Regions from separate parts of the Homo sapiens genome. Here region 2 is linked to region 1. The links are contacts of gene promoters, found by promoter capture Hi-C in blood cells and fetal thymus (Javierre and others, 2016). All regions are on one chromosome and are shown on one strand. The core of a region is centred on a gene start or on the middle of the fragment in contact, and the rest is flanking DNA. Distances in the headings are between cores, read along the strand shown. Region 1 holds the start of SPECC1 (sperm antigen with calponin homology and coiled-coil domains 1). Region 2 overlaps SPECC1 (sperm antigen with calponin homology and coiled-coil domains 1).

The links. Contacts are between HindIII fragments. The CHiCAGO score rates a contact against its expected background, and 5 or more counts as called.
Region 2: a contact is called between a fragment that was not itself captured here and the fragment with the promoter of SPECC1 in region 1, in 7 of 17 cell types (erythroblasts, M2 macrophages, monocytes and 4 more). The highest score is 7.8, in erythroblasts.

The regions. Positions count from the first base shown.
Region 1 is chr17:20,006,984-20,014,267 of GRCh38, forward strand. It overlaps SPECC1 (sperm antigen with calponin homology and coiled-coil domains 1), which reads left to right and starts at 2,376. Exons shown (of 15, transcript NM_001243439.2): 1 at 2,376-2,441. It overlaps SPECC1-DT (SPECC1 divergent transcript), which reads right to left and starts at 2,277. Exons shown (of 1, transcript NR_186461.1): 1 at 1,072-2,277. RefSeq lists an enhancer at 1,178-1,745 and silencers at 2,178-2,847, 2,868-3,047. The HindIII fragment of the contact is 26,343 bases long and covers 1-7,284 here.
Region 2 is chr17:20,280,056-20,286,903 of GRCh38, forward strand. All of the region lies in intron 12 of SPECC1 (sperm antigen with calponin homology and coiled-coil domains 1), which reads left to right. Among named protein-coding and RNA genes, the nearest start is that of FAM106B, 130 kb to the right of the region's middle. RefSeq lists an enhancer at 1,468-1,968. The HindIII fragment of the contact is 795 bases long and covers 4,053-4,847 here.

The DNA.
Region 1 (7,284 bases), core at 1,126-3,625:
CTAATTCAAGGGATTACCTAAAATAAAGGGTTCAGAAAAGACGAAAACAGCAAAGGTTGTTTGGGGTAACAAACAAAATTCAGCAGGATGGTAAAATATCAGACAAAGTTAAATTCAGGGCAAAGTTTGAACACATTAAATGAGACAAGGAAGGTCATTTTATGATGAAGTGGGAAAATTCCCAAGAATATAAGACAAATGAATATTTATGCACAAATAACATGGTACTATTTATAAAGCAGGACTTCAGAGAAATAAGGAGAAATAAAAACACAATAGTAACAAAAGATTCTAATTTACCTTCTTCCGATTACGTTAGATCAAAATACGTCTAAAAAATAAAGGAGAAAAAATATTTTAAAAAGAAGAAGAAAAAAGCTCCAGTATAACCAAAAACATAAACCTAAGAGCTGATTCTTTGAAAAAAAAATACACTTTTAAAAGTTAACAAAATAAAGAAGCAAAAATACACAAAATAAGATATTTGGGAGAAGTTAAAAGATTCACAAAAGACTACTTTCCTCAACTTTATGCAAATACACTTGAACATCTGGAAAAAAAGGATAATTTGTTTTAAGAAATACATGCTTTATCAAAATTAACTCTAGAATAATTTTTAAAATGTAAATAATAAAATTGCCACAGAAGAAACTTTTCTAGCCTTAAAAGATTTACCCTCCCCAAAGAAAGCATCAGGCTGGGAGGAACATTTTTAACTGGGAAATGATCAAACCTCAAAGAATAGATAATTTTAATGCTCCTTAAATTGTTCAGAGTAAAAGGAAAAAGCAAACATGCCCATTTTTTTTTCTTTTTTTTTTTTTGTAGAGATGGGGGGGTCTCACTGTGTTTCCTAGACTGGTCTCGAACTTCTGGCCTCAAGCACTCCTCCTGCCTCGGTTCCAAATTTTTTATGATGTGAGCATAACATTGATTCTGAAACCAAACAACATTAGACATTCAAAAAGAAAATTATTGCCCATCTCATTTTTGCATATCAATGCAAAGCCTGTAAATAAAATATTAGCAAACAGAATCAAGCAGTATATTTAAAAAAAAAAGACAAGTTTATTGCAGGGATAAACTGGGTTTTTATTAGGAATTTATTATAACTAGGACTCATTACTTCAATATGAGGAAATCAGCTGTCACCCGGTTTGCTCGTCCTTACAGACATCTCCCTCCTCTTCCTCTCTTCCTTTCCAGTGAAAATGTCTTCAAGTTTCCTCTACCAAACCAAAACTTCACCCCACTTCTTTTATTCTTTCCTCCTCTCTTCTCAGAACAAAGGGGTTGTTGCTGACCAGCCCAGGGTTTCTTATTTGGGGCCGGATCATTCTTCCTTGTGGGGCAGTCCTGTCCTTCAGGTAGGATGTTGAGGAGCACCCTCGTGTCTACCCACTTAGGCAACAGTAGCAACTCCCGCATCATGACAACCAAAAATGTCTCCAGACCTCCCCAAATGTACGCGGGGCGGCGAGGAGGGGCAACACCGGCCCTGGTCGAGAACCGCTAGCCTAGGCTCGCCCCTCTACCTGGGCGCCACAACTTGCCAGGGTTGGTTATTCTCCCTGGATCCTTTCCTTCCTCCTCATTTGAGCTTCACGCCCTCAAGTATGACCAAAGGTTCTGTCATTCCACTCCTGCAGTTTTCATTAAGGTCTTAGGCCACTTCCATGTCAAGAAACACAGTGGCTCTTTCTAACCCCTGGCCATGAGGCACCCCTGGAGGAGGAGCCGTGAGGGTAGGGAAGATGCTGAGGGGGATGTTGACCTTGCCGACTTCCAGGCGCCTCCGCTGCATCCCGGAGGAGGCGTTGGGCGGTGAGGGTGCAGCGGGGGGGCGGGCCCCGCAGGATGAGGTGTCCGTGTGCGGCTAGCGCCACAGGCAAGACCGGGCTCCTTGCGGGGCGGAGGTGAGGCCGTGAGCATAGCTCTCAAACTGGAGGGCGCCTCAGAATCACTTGACGGGCTTGCGAGAATGTGGACTGCTGGGCCCCACCTTCATGGTTTTAGTGCAGGAAAAACCGAATAGGCTGGGTGGGACGGAGAATCTGCATTTTCTCAAGTTCCCAGATGAGGCTGAAGCTGCTGGTCCGGGCACCACCCTTAGAAAACCTCCAGTGTAGAGTGCGGAAATGGGGTCCACATCTGGCTTGGGACGCCCAAACATCGATTATGTGCGACCAGAGGATGAGCAGATAGGGAGATGAGACACTGAGAGCTGGGAGAGAGGGGGCCCCCGGCCGCCGGCTGAAGGAGGACGGCGCAGGCGGCGGTCCGGGTACTACATCTCCCAGCGAGCCCCGCGCGGCTCGCGCTCGCCCCCTGGCGGCGATGGCTGGAGGCGCCGGCGGAGCGCGGGTCCCTCTCCTGAGCATCAGTGAGCGCCCGGAGCCGTGGCCGCTGGGGGTTGCGGCGGCGCTGAGCCAGCGGGGCCGGTGAGTACTAGCCGCGCCGCCAGCCCGCCCGCCGGCCGGCTCTTTGCGCCTCAGCCGCGTGGTCTGAAGGGATGGGCGGGCGAGCGCGGGGGTCCGGCAGTCCGTCGTGGGGGCACGGGACTGCCTTTCTGGGAAGGCGTGCTGCGTCTTCGCCGCGGGGGCCCCGGTCCCCTCGTCGCGTGTCCTGTCCCCAGCCCAGGAGGGACGTCCTGGCCTGTCCTGCCCGGCCCGGAGCGGTGGGACCGGTGCCGCAGGTGGCAGCGGCAGGTGGCCGCCTCCTCCCCTCCGGGCCCGAGGGTTGTCGCAGGGACCCGGGACTGAGAGCCAGGTGGCTCCCGACAGCTGCGGCCCTGGAGGCGACCCCAGCCCTCGCCGCAGTGGGACAGGTGCGCGGGCACGCCCGGCCCCGGCTCCTGGGTCTCGGGAGCCTCCCGCACCCTCCCTGTTGTGCCTTGGGGGTGCTGCGTGGTGCAGAGGACCGAGAAGCCCTTCGCCCTCGGCGTCCGCCGCGCTCCCGCCCCTTCCTGGCCGGGGTGACAGGGGAAGGGCTAGGGCTGCGCATCCCGGGTCAGCTGGGGCGCCGCGGCGCAGTGCACCTGGAAGGCCCGGGGGCAGCGCGCGGTGCCCGTGGGTTTCCCGGTGGTGCGGACCTGCGGGCGTGCGGAAGTAACGACCTCCTTCCCCAGTGCCCATGCAAGGAAATTAGTGTTATGTGCTTGCTTTTTTTTTTTTTTTTTCCTAAGGAAGTTTGACTCTGAATATCTTATTTTGCTGGAGCTCCATTTGCCAGCACGTAAGTTTATGTAATAAGCGGCATACAGTTCGGAAAAAAATTTTCCTGTGAAAGTGCTCTTCCTTGCCCTCTGCAGGAAGAATTACGCCGAGCTGGTTGGCAGGCTTATCCACCAGCAACTGTAGGAGCTGCAGGCAGCAGATAAAGTGTTTTTTGAGTAAGGGCACAAGTCAGCCCTTCAGGACAATTTTTGTTTTTGGAAGATTCTGTTATCCAGTTCCAAACACCGTGTTATTTCAGTGTTGAAGATGGGGGAGGAGGGAGGAGCACAGGCTTGTCAATCCTAATACCTCAACAGAAATTAGCTTTGCAGGATTAACTCTCCAAGCAAGCGAGTTGAATTTGGTAGCCCAAACTACAGCTGAAGCTGAGCCTCCATACTAAAGCCTGTCTCAGTTTTAATAGTTTTTCGCTTGATTCGTTTGCCTCTTCCAAGTAGGTGATCTTATTGTCTGTTAAACAACAGATGTCTCTCATGTTTTTACTTTTTTCCTTGTCTTCCATAGATTACTCTCGCTGCAGTGTTGACTATTGAGGTTAAATAGGAATCTTTGTCTTGGGCTTGGTTTTAGGGAGCATTCCCTCTGTATCTTCACCGAGTGTATTCTATCACATTAAGTACATTTCTGTTTATGCCTAATTACTAAGAGTTTAAAAAGTCAAGGGTGGGTGTTGGGTTTTTTGCCCAAATGCTTTTGTGTAGCATGCATTGATATGATCATGTAGATTTTCGTCTTAAAATTGTTAACATAAGTGGTGGTCACATTGCTAGATTTTCTTTCTCTAAAACCCTGGGCTAATTTAAAATGCACTTTTGGATTGTTCACATCAATAAGCTAGCATCTTATTTAGGGTTTTGGTATCTGAGTTTGGCATATAGTTTACCCCATTTTTATCTGTGTTCATAACAAGGATCAGGCTGTCCTCTCTGATTAAATTGGGAAACTTTCCATCATTTTCTATGCTCTGGAATAGAAGAATTATCTGTTCCCTCAAGTTTGGCAGAACTTGACTGCAGACTGCCTGGGCTGCTGCTGGTGTTGTTTAGGCAGTTAATATCAGTATTTAATTACCTTTTCATTTTTTTCATGATCATTTATTTTTCTCAGTTTTTCTGTTTCTTCAAAGTAAATTTAATATTTTCTGTTTTCCTAGAAAATCATTAACATTATTGAAATTTAATATATGCTAGCATAATGTTGTATATAGTATTCTGGTGTAAGAAAACAGACTCTTACATATCTGTATGTATCTGTATGTTCTCTTTCTGATACAGTACTTTTTTTGGTACCTTTTCTCTTTTTTTTTGATCAGACTTGCTTAATGATTATTTTATTAATCCTTTCAAAGAACCAGCTTTTATTAACCAGGATTTATTGATTAATTCTATTGATTTTTTATTTTTCTATGACATTAATTTCTGTTTTTTATCTTTCTACTTAATTTGAGTTTATTTTGTTCAAGTTTTAACTGTTTGAATGGAAAACCTGGCTCATTTATTTAATCAGTCCTGTGAACAAGGCAAGGACTTCTAATTCTTTCATTCCACTTACCTCACATTTGGCCTTAATTGTATTTTTACTTCAACCCTTCCAACGAGACATTATTGCTATTGTTTTTGTTATTTTCTAGGTCAACATTTATTAGCTTTATCTACCTGTTTACCATTTCTTCACTTTCCATTCCTTCTTGTATCACAGATACTTTTCTTTGGAACATTTTTCTTCTCCCTCAAGTACATTCTTTAGAAATTACTTCAGCAATGATCAATTTTCTGTTTTTGTAATATCTGAAAATGCCTTTATTCTCCCTGTATTCTAGAATTTTGGTTTCACCATGTGTCTTCTATTGATTTCAGAGTTATTTTTGTATTTTTTTATATTTTTAAAAAGATGTTTTGTAGCTGGAAGGTTTTTAGGATCTCTATTCTGCCACAGTGCTGAAAGAAAAACAAAGATTAAGAACAGATTAATTTGCAGTCCACTGTCAGTCACGACTGTTCCCTGAACTCTTAGTATATTGGGTATACAGTTCTATATTAATCTCAAGTTTATTGATGGTAATTCAGGTTTTCTGCATCCTTAACTTATTTTTTTTCTCTGTTTGACCTGTTGATATGGAGAGTTGTATTGAAGACTCCCATTATGATTCTTGTAGGGGTTTTTGTACTATTTCTATGTTTAATATATATTTTTCTTTAAATGTTGTATTTTTGAAGCTGTTTTATGTGCTTAAAGGTTCACAATTCTTGTATCTTCTTGGTGAATTGTACCTTTTGGGAATAAACGAGCCATCTTATTTAATTTTTTTTTTGTTCATTCTCTTTATATTGCTGTACTTGCTTTTTGTTAGCATTTATATGGAATATCTTTTTCTAGTCACTGATTTTCAATTTTCTGTGTCTTCTTTAATTGTTACTCTTACCATTAGCTTATGGCTGGATTTTGTTTAATTAGTTAATCTTTGTCTTTTAATAAATATTGTGGTAAAATAACATAAAATTTATTATTTATTATTTTTATTTTTACCATTTACTACTTTTAAGTTTACAGTTCCCCAGTGTTAAGTGTGTGCACATTGTTATGCAACCAATCTCCAGAATTTTTTCATCTTACAAAATTGAAGCTCTGTATCCATTACCGCAGCCCCTGGCAACCACCATTCTGCTTTTTGTCTCTATGAATTTGCCTATTTTAGGTACCTTGCATGAGTATCTAATATAGTACCTCATATAGTATTTGTCTTTTTATAACTGGCTTATTTCATTTAATGTAATGCCCTCAAGGTTCATCCATGTTGTAGCATGTGTCAGAATTTTCTTCATTTTTATTGCTAATTAATATTCCATTGAATGTATACACCACATTTTGCTTATCCATATATTTATCAAAGGATATTTATGTTGGTTCCACATCATAGCTATTATGAATAATGCTGCCATGATCATGGGTGTACAAATATCTCTTCAAGACCCTGCTTTCAGTTATTTGGGTATATACCCAGAAGTAGAATTGTTGGATCAAGTAGTACTTCTATTTTTAATTTTTTGATGACCCAGCATAGTGTTTTCCGCAGAGGCTGAACCATTTTATATTCTCACCAGCAATGCGTGAGAATTTCAGTTTCCATACATCCTTGCTAACATCTGTTATTCTCTCTCTTTTTTTGATAGTAGCTATCCTTATGGGTGTGAAATCTTTGTCTTTTAATAGGTAGCTTTAGCCCATTTATATTTATTTTGATTACTGATCTTTTGCGGATTATTCCTGTCATCTTATTTTATATTTTTGATTTCCTTTTTTGAGACGGAGTCTTGCTCTATCGTCCAGGCTGGAGTGCAGTGGCACGATCTCCGCTCACTGCGACCTCCGGCTTTCGGGTTCAAACGATTCTCCCAACCCAGCCTCCCGAGTAGCTGGAATTACAGGCCTGCAACCACTATGCCCGGCTAATTTTTGTGTTTTTAGTGGGGACAGGTTTTAACCGTGTTGGCCAGGCTAGTCTCAAATTTCTGACCTCAAGTGATCTGCCTGCCTTACCCGCCCAAAGTGCTGAGATTACAGGCATGAACCACTGTGCCGAGCTGGTTCATTTCATTCTCATTGCTGTGTATATGCCATTGTATATATCCCTAATATAGATATACATTTGACTTTGATTGGCAGTTGGTTGTTTGCATTTTTGGACTATTATGAATAGTAAGTACATGAACACTCTAGTACACGTCTTTTGTTGAGTGAGTGTGTGCATTTCTGTTGAGTGTGTATCTGGGAGTGGAACTGCTTGGTTGTAGTCTGTGCATGTGCTCGGTTTTAGTAGATACTAGCAAACAGTTTTCAGTACCGGTTGCACCAACTTATTTACCCCAGAAGTATATGTGGTTGCTCCACATTCTTGCCAACTCTTGGTAATTTCTGTCTTTTACCTTTTAGTTATTCTGGTGGATACTGTGGTTTTAATTTGGATTTTCCTGATGATAAATGAATTTGCACTGTTTTGGTACCCTTAGTTTTTCACACATATCTAAACATTTTTTTCTCTTGCTATTAA
Region 2 (6,848 bases), core at 3,200-5,699, 280 kb after region 1:
ATCCATCAAAATGGATTCCACCTGTGTGCAGAGAGGTGCATGGGAGGACAATTATCGCAGTACTGTTTGTGATAACAGAAAACTGGAAACAACCTAAACGGGCTGCTGTCTCCATCCATGTGATGGACCTGCATGTGTCGTCAGAGAACAAAGTAGCGAATGGTGATGGAAGTAAAGCTAGCAGTGACAAAATATTTACCACGTGACCGACATTGTCTAAGTGCATCTAATCTTGACCACAATCTCATGAGTTAGGCATTTTGTATCCATTTTACAAATACAAAACTAAGGCAGCAAGAGGCTCCATGACTGCTCAGAGTCACACCCTAGTAAGGGATAGAGCTGGGACTGAACTCCTGCTGTTGGGCCCAGCATCCAGTCCCTTGGTCTCTACACTGAAACTGTTCATCCAGATGTCGTGAAGGACCTAGCTCTATATATCTTGGTAAGGGTGCAGAACATGCCACCATCTGCATAAAAGGGGGAAATACACATGCATGTTTGCATAAGTGCAAGACAGCACTGTCCTGTAGAACCCTCTGTGATGATGGGAATGTTCTATATCTGTGCTGGCCAATCCTGTAGCCACAGGTGGCTGCTGAGCACTTAAAAGATTCCTAATGTGACTGAGAAATGGAATTTTGATATTATTTAATTTTAACTAATTTAAACAGCCACATGGGGCTGGTGGCTGTCGTATGGGGCAATGCAAGGTAGAATATAGACAGATGGATGTTAAAGAAAAGATCACCGGATTTTGTGGTTTGCAATCCCTACTTTTAAAAAACCTTCTGCAGAAGCATCATTGGAAGAACGGGTTTCATAACTGTTTATTTCAGAACCACTAATTTAATCTAGCCACTTCATTTGAGAGATGAGGAAACTTAAGGCAGAAAAGTTGAGTCACTTTCCTAAAGTCATATTCAGCTGCGTTAGTGTGAGGAGGAAGGAGCGGGTCACAGTTTGGTTTGGTTTGTTCCTCTTTAGAGCATCGGACATTCTCGTTTGCCAGGGGCTTCATTCAATCTGATGTCAGCTCAGTTCTTAGCATGGCCGGTCGGTTCCTGGAAATGGCGGCTTTGGGTGAAACCATGTGCTGTAAGCCATGGGAACTCAACTCTGGCCCATGTCAATTAGCCTGCGGTGAAACTGGTTTTGTTATACAGCGTGTCACCATTTCACTTAATGTTACAGTGTCCAAGAACCTCCCAACATTAAGTGAGGACTTACTATAAAAGAAAGAAAGAACCAGACTTTTGTCTCCTGGGCTCCCAGAACTCCATGAGGAATCTTGCAGTGGCTCGCCCTTTCCTGAAGCCCCAGAGTTCATCCTGCCTCCTGCACACCCCAGGCTCAGGCTGTCCTGCCTGCCTGCACCACAGCATGGGTGAACCATGGTAGGACCATGCTTCCCTGCGGTGTACTCCTCAGCGCCTCACACATGGAGGGCTTTGGAAATGTTTGTGTGGACTCTACTCCCAGCCTCGAGGGCTGAACCGCTAGTGAGTTGTGCAGATGGCTCATGAGGAGATTTCTCCAACATTTCCTTGAGGGAGCTGCTGGACACAGGTAAACACTCAGCAAGGAGCAGAATGGGGCTTCAGGGGGCTGCTAGTCCACTGAGCCTGGGTGACTCCAGGAGGAGAGGAGCCAGCAGAGCTATGCATGACCATGACCTTTTTTAGAAGCAGCAAGCAAGGAGGAAGAGTGGAATTAATGAAAATGAGGTAGCCAACTTAACAGAAAGGCAGAAGAGGAAAGAAAATTCCAGGGAAGTGTTTCCCCAGAGGCCTGAGCATGGTCCTAGGGGTCAGAAGATGGCAGGGAATCATCTGGGATCCGAGGTGAGGGCACAGAGAAGACCTGTTCTCAGGACGCCAAGGAAGAACTGGGAGGCCCCTGCTGAGCCGCGGGGCTTCGCCTGCGTTCGGGTGCTGTGTGAGGCTAGCACTGCCAGTGGAACTGCTGTTGGGCTGGAGGAAGTGGACCCAGCCAGGGGGCAGGAGGTGTTGGCCGCAGGCCCATGCTTGCAAGGCAACCAGACCCTGTGTCACAATGCCAAAGCCAGTTAACCTCGGGGAAGAAACGCCGTGGGTGGGGACTTCTGAGTGTTTGTCAAGTGAAAATGGAGGAAGCAAGAAAGACAGGGCCCCAGCTGCTCCTGAGATGTGTATCTTCTGTGATTCTGTCTCCAGGGAGGGACTGTGCAGCATCTGCCTGAACATCTCTGGGACACAGCCGTCCTCTCGCCATAGGAAGGCTCTTGTCCACAGAGGAGTAAAGGGAAGGGCGCTGCTTCCTGCACCAGCTCACCGTGGCCGCTGTCTCCATTTTCGCAGTCTCAAACCCTCGGTGCTTTCAGTGTGGATAAAAGAGTGGGAGGAACATTTAAAAAGTGAATTATTCCAAATTAGTCTCTAAATTTAATGCAATTCCGATTAAAATCCCAACAGACTTTCTTTATTCTTGAACTTAACAAAGTAATTAAAAATTCACCTGGAAGAATAAGCAACTAAGAAGAGCCAAAAAAGTTTAGAGAAAGAGTGCTGATGAAAGTGGGTTGCCCTGCCTGACTGGAAAGGTGCAATGAAGCCACGGCAGAGGAGACCCCCTTCACACGTCATTCTGCCCACCGTAGCGTTGCAGAAGCAAAGACACAGTGGAAACAGCCATGAGCATGGCCCCTGCAGCTCATGTTTCAGAATAGTAATGACACTGACTTGAACGGGTTGAGGAGGTCTGCATTTTTTTAAATCTTAAAAGATAAGTAGAAGTTGTCAGATTTGATTTGGGAGATAATGAGCCATATAAAATCTAAAGTAGAAAAATAAATAATTGGCTGGGTGCGTGCAGTGGCTCACGCCTGTAATCCCAGCACTTTCAGAGGCTGAGGCAGGAGGATTGCTTGACCTCGGGAGTTCAAGACCAGCCTGGGCAACATAGTGAGACCCCATCTCTAAGAAAAGATGAAAAAAAAAATTAGCCAGGCATGGTGGCTTCCACCTGTAGTCCCAGCTACTCTGGAGGCTGAGGTGGGAGGATCACTTGAGCACAGGAGATTGAGGCTACAGTGAGCCCTGATCACACTATTGCACTCCAACCTGGGCAGCAGAGCCAGACCCTATCTTAGAAAAACAAACAAACAAAAAAGATTAAAGCAATAATATGAACAGGAGCAGAAATGGAAAGGCATTCCAAGGAATCCCAGAGTTATTCCATGAGGGACAAAAGGTAGCTTTCCGCTGCCAGAGATGTGACTTGCCCTTTGCAGCAAATATAAAAGAAGTCACTTCAGGCATTCTGATTGTCTGTAGCTGTAGAGCAAACCACCCCGAAACAGTGGATTACAATAACATCTTCATTAACCTTATGAATTAAATGTCTTTAATTTTTGCCAGTTTGATGAGTGAAAATGATATTTTACCGTTTTTATTTTCTGGTGAGACTGAACATCTTTTCATACATTTCAGACTATTTGTATTTCCTCTTCAGTACATTACAGGTTCATTTCTCTGCCAATTTTTACTTGAGTTGTTTGTCTTTTTCTTTGAGACAGAGTCTTGCTCTGTCACCCTGGCTGGAGTGTAGTGGCACGATCTTGGCTCACCTCAACCTCTGCCTCCTGAGCTCAAGCAGTCCTCCCACCTCAGCCTCCCAAGTAGCTGGGACTACAGCTGCATGCCACCACATTTGGCTAATTTTTGTATTTTTTTGGTAGAGATGAGGTTTCGCCATGTTTCCCAGACTGTTCTCAAACCCCTGGCCTCGAGCGATCCACTTGCCTCAACCTCTCAAAGTGCTAGGATTATAGGCATGAGCTACCATGTCTGTCCTCTTTCTTATTGATTACAGGAATATATTTTGAGTATTAGTCGTTTGCTATACATATATTGGTTTTAATTTTGTCATATAGAAACTTTCTTTAAGTCAGATTTCTTAATCCTTTCCTTTATACTTTTTGCATTTTGTGCCTTAGATGGCTTTCTTTCCCCAGGATTATAAGCCTATTCTTCTATATTTTTCTTTTTATAATGTTATAATTTTGGTTTTTAAGCTTAGCCATCTGGAACTCATCTCTAGGAAACAAGCGATGCGAGACTAATCCCTGGGAGAAGGGAAACTCCTGCAGTGATGGCCAGCTCACCAGCTCTCTGCCTGGGAACAATATCCACTTCCCAGTGCAGGGAGCTGGCCTCTGAGCAGAGCACAGCAGCCCCACTGGCTGAGGAGGCGGTGATCAGAGAGGGGCAGCCAAAGCTGCACATTTTATGGAATGGGGCATCAGAAAGGAGGATGCTGTGAAGATAGGGGGCCCAGGAGTCTATGTGCAGGTCTCCACAAGTCATGGCCAAGGGTTGTGCTGTCCGTGTGCAGGACGAGGCCACTCGAGGTTTACCAGATAGTCTGAGATCAGAACAGAGGTACTAAAACTGGATGTGTGTGTACACTTGTCCCAGGCAAGGACCGAACACTGAATGCACGGCAGGGAAGGAGCACAGGCTGCATTTGCTGAGATTTCACATGAAATGTTATGTGTGCATTTGCTTTGTATCCTCTCTGACCAGACCTTCAAAGTAAGTGTGATCCTCCCTGGGCTTTTATTGCACATGCTGAGCTCCAGTGAGGAATGAGCTGCTTTTATCCTCTGTGATCTGTAAACTGTTAAACTTTCCAAAAACTAAAAACTCAATCTGATTCCACAGCTGTGATAATAAAGACCAATTGGGAAAACCCCAGAGAGATTCAGGGAGTGAGACTGTTTAGATCACCATGAGCCTGAGACAGCTGGTTCCTGCAAGAATGAATGTACAGCATTTTCTAATCAGTCTCCTGCCTTTTTCCCAAGAAGCTTTGCTTTTTTCTTTTTGACTTTTGCAGTTAGTGTACACAGAGTCAGTTCATTCACAGACACCTCATGGAGGCACCTGGAGGTCCTTGGTGAAGGTAAAGAAGTACTGGGAATGCAGCCACGGAATCCAGCTGTGTCCTCGATTGAATTTAGCACAGTACACAATTCAGTGTGTACCCTGCAGCTTGTCCCCCCAGTGATTGATGTTTTTTACCAAATGTTAATAACCAAGGCAAGGCAAGTAACCAGGCAACCAAGGCAAGCGAAAGCATCTTCTAGAAGCAAATGCGCAGGCTGTGTGGTTTTGCTTTGCCCTGTCCTGCTGCGTTATTCATGAGTGCTGTCTCTACATTCCCCCGTCTGCAACTTTAGTACAACCTCAACACTCTGGGAAGATATTCTTGGATATGCACTAAAATTAGATTTTTACCTTCCCATGTGTAATTCAATGTCTTCATTTTTCTCAAATGACTTTTGCTTCATTGAGGTGGACAAAATTCTGTATCTTACTTTTTTTTTTTCCTAAACCCTCCTAGAGACCTATAACCAGTTTTGGAGATGGTTGGACTGTTACCCTTTTATTAAACATCTAAGACTTTCATCAAAAAGTTCCATATTCCACTCAGAAATATTGCTAAAGTATTTATATCCTGGGAAAAGTTAATTTGTAATTAGTAACTAGCATTTCCCTGGGTAAAAATAATCAGCAAGTTTCTTTCTGTTTTTGCTCCACTTTTTCCTCCCCAAAAATCTTGTACATAAATTCCAAATGTTAGTGTTCAGAGTGGACACCACACTCTAGCCCCTTAAGACAATCAGGGTCCTTCCCTCCTTGTTTCCTTCTTCCCTCCCCCTCCCTGTCCTCCCTCCTTCTCTCTCCCCTTCCCTCCCTCCCTTTCTTTCTTCCTTCCTTCCTTTTTTTTTTTTTGATAGGGTCTCGCTCTACCACCCAGGTTGGAGTGAAGTGATTTGATCATGGCTCACTGCAGCCCCAGTCTCCCCAGGCTCAAGTGATTCTCCTGCCTCAGCCTTCCCAGTAGCTGGGATTATAGGCATGCACTATCATGCCTGGCTAATTTTTACATTTTTTGTAGAGACAGGGTCCCGCCATGTTGCCCAGGCTAGTCTTGAGCTCTTGGGCTTAAGCACCTCCTGCCTCGGCCTCCCAAAGTGCTGGGATTTGTGAGCCATCGCACATGACCTCCTTTTTAATTGAGGTATAACATACACATGTGCATGGGGGATGCTCACGAGGTGACCCAGGTCTAGAAAGCACAGCATTCAGCCCCCCAGAATCCTCTTCATGTTCCCCTGGTTACCAGCTTCCACTCAAGGATAACAATGATCCTAGTCCGTTTTATTCAGGGATGAATATCAAGGAAAATACCAGAAGGTAACAGCCTACAGAATGCCTGCTGGGCTGCTTTTCATTTTCTTCTCATGGTTCTTTTGATGAACCTCTGAGTCTCAGATGAGTGGTCCTTGGGAAAAGACCTTACCATACTAACATCCCTGGGGTGGTCTGTGTTTCTTCTTAGTTTTGGCTGCTTCTGTGAGCATTGAGGACTGTCGCGCAGCAGCTCAGCCAGATTTCACCCCTCTCTACTTTAAGGCCTGTGCCAGCTCTAGTCATCCCCTCGCCAAAAATGAGACTTTTCACCTCCATCCAGGGGTAGGTCCTGGAGTGAGTTCTCAGCTTGCTCCCTGGGGTGCCTAGGACTTGCCCGGCCACCCATGTCCCACAAACTGCTGTTTTTCTGCCTGGTGCCCAGTATATTGGCCCTGCCCACACGAGTACCTTGCTGCCATGGCTTCCTTGACCTCTCTGGTCACTGCAGTGGGACTGGATCTTAACCCACCTACCTGGGACCCACAGACCTTGCCTAGCTCCTGGCTGCCCAGGGCTGGATGCTTTTCCAGTCCAGGAAACCAGCCCCCAAGAGACTGGTGAATGATGGCATGATCCCATCGCTGCTGCCTGCCTCTTCCCTCCAACCCC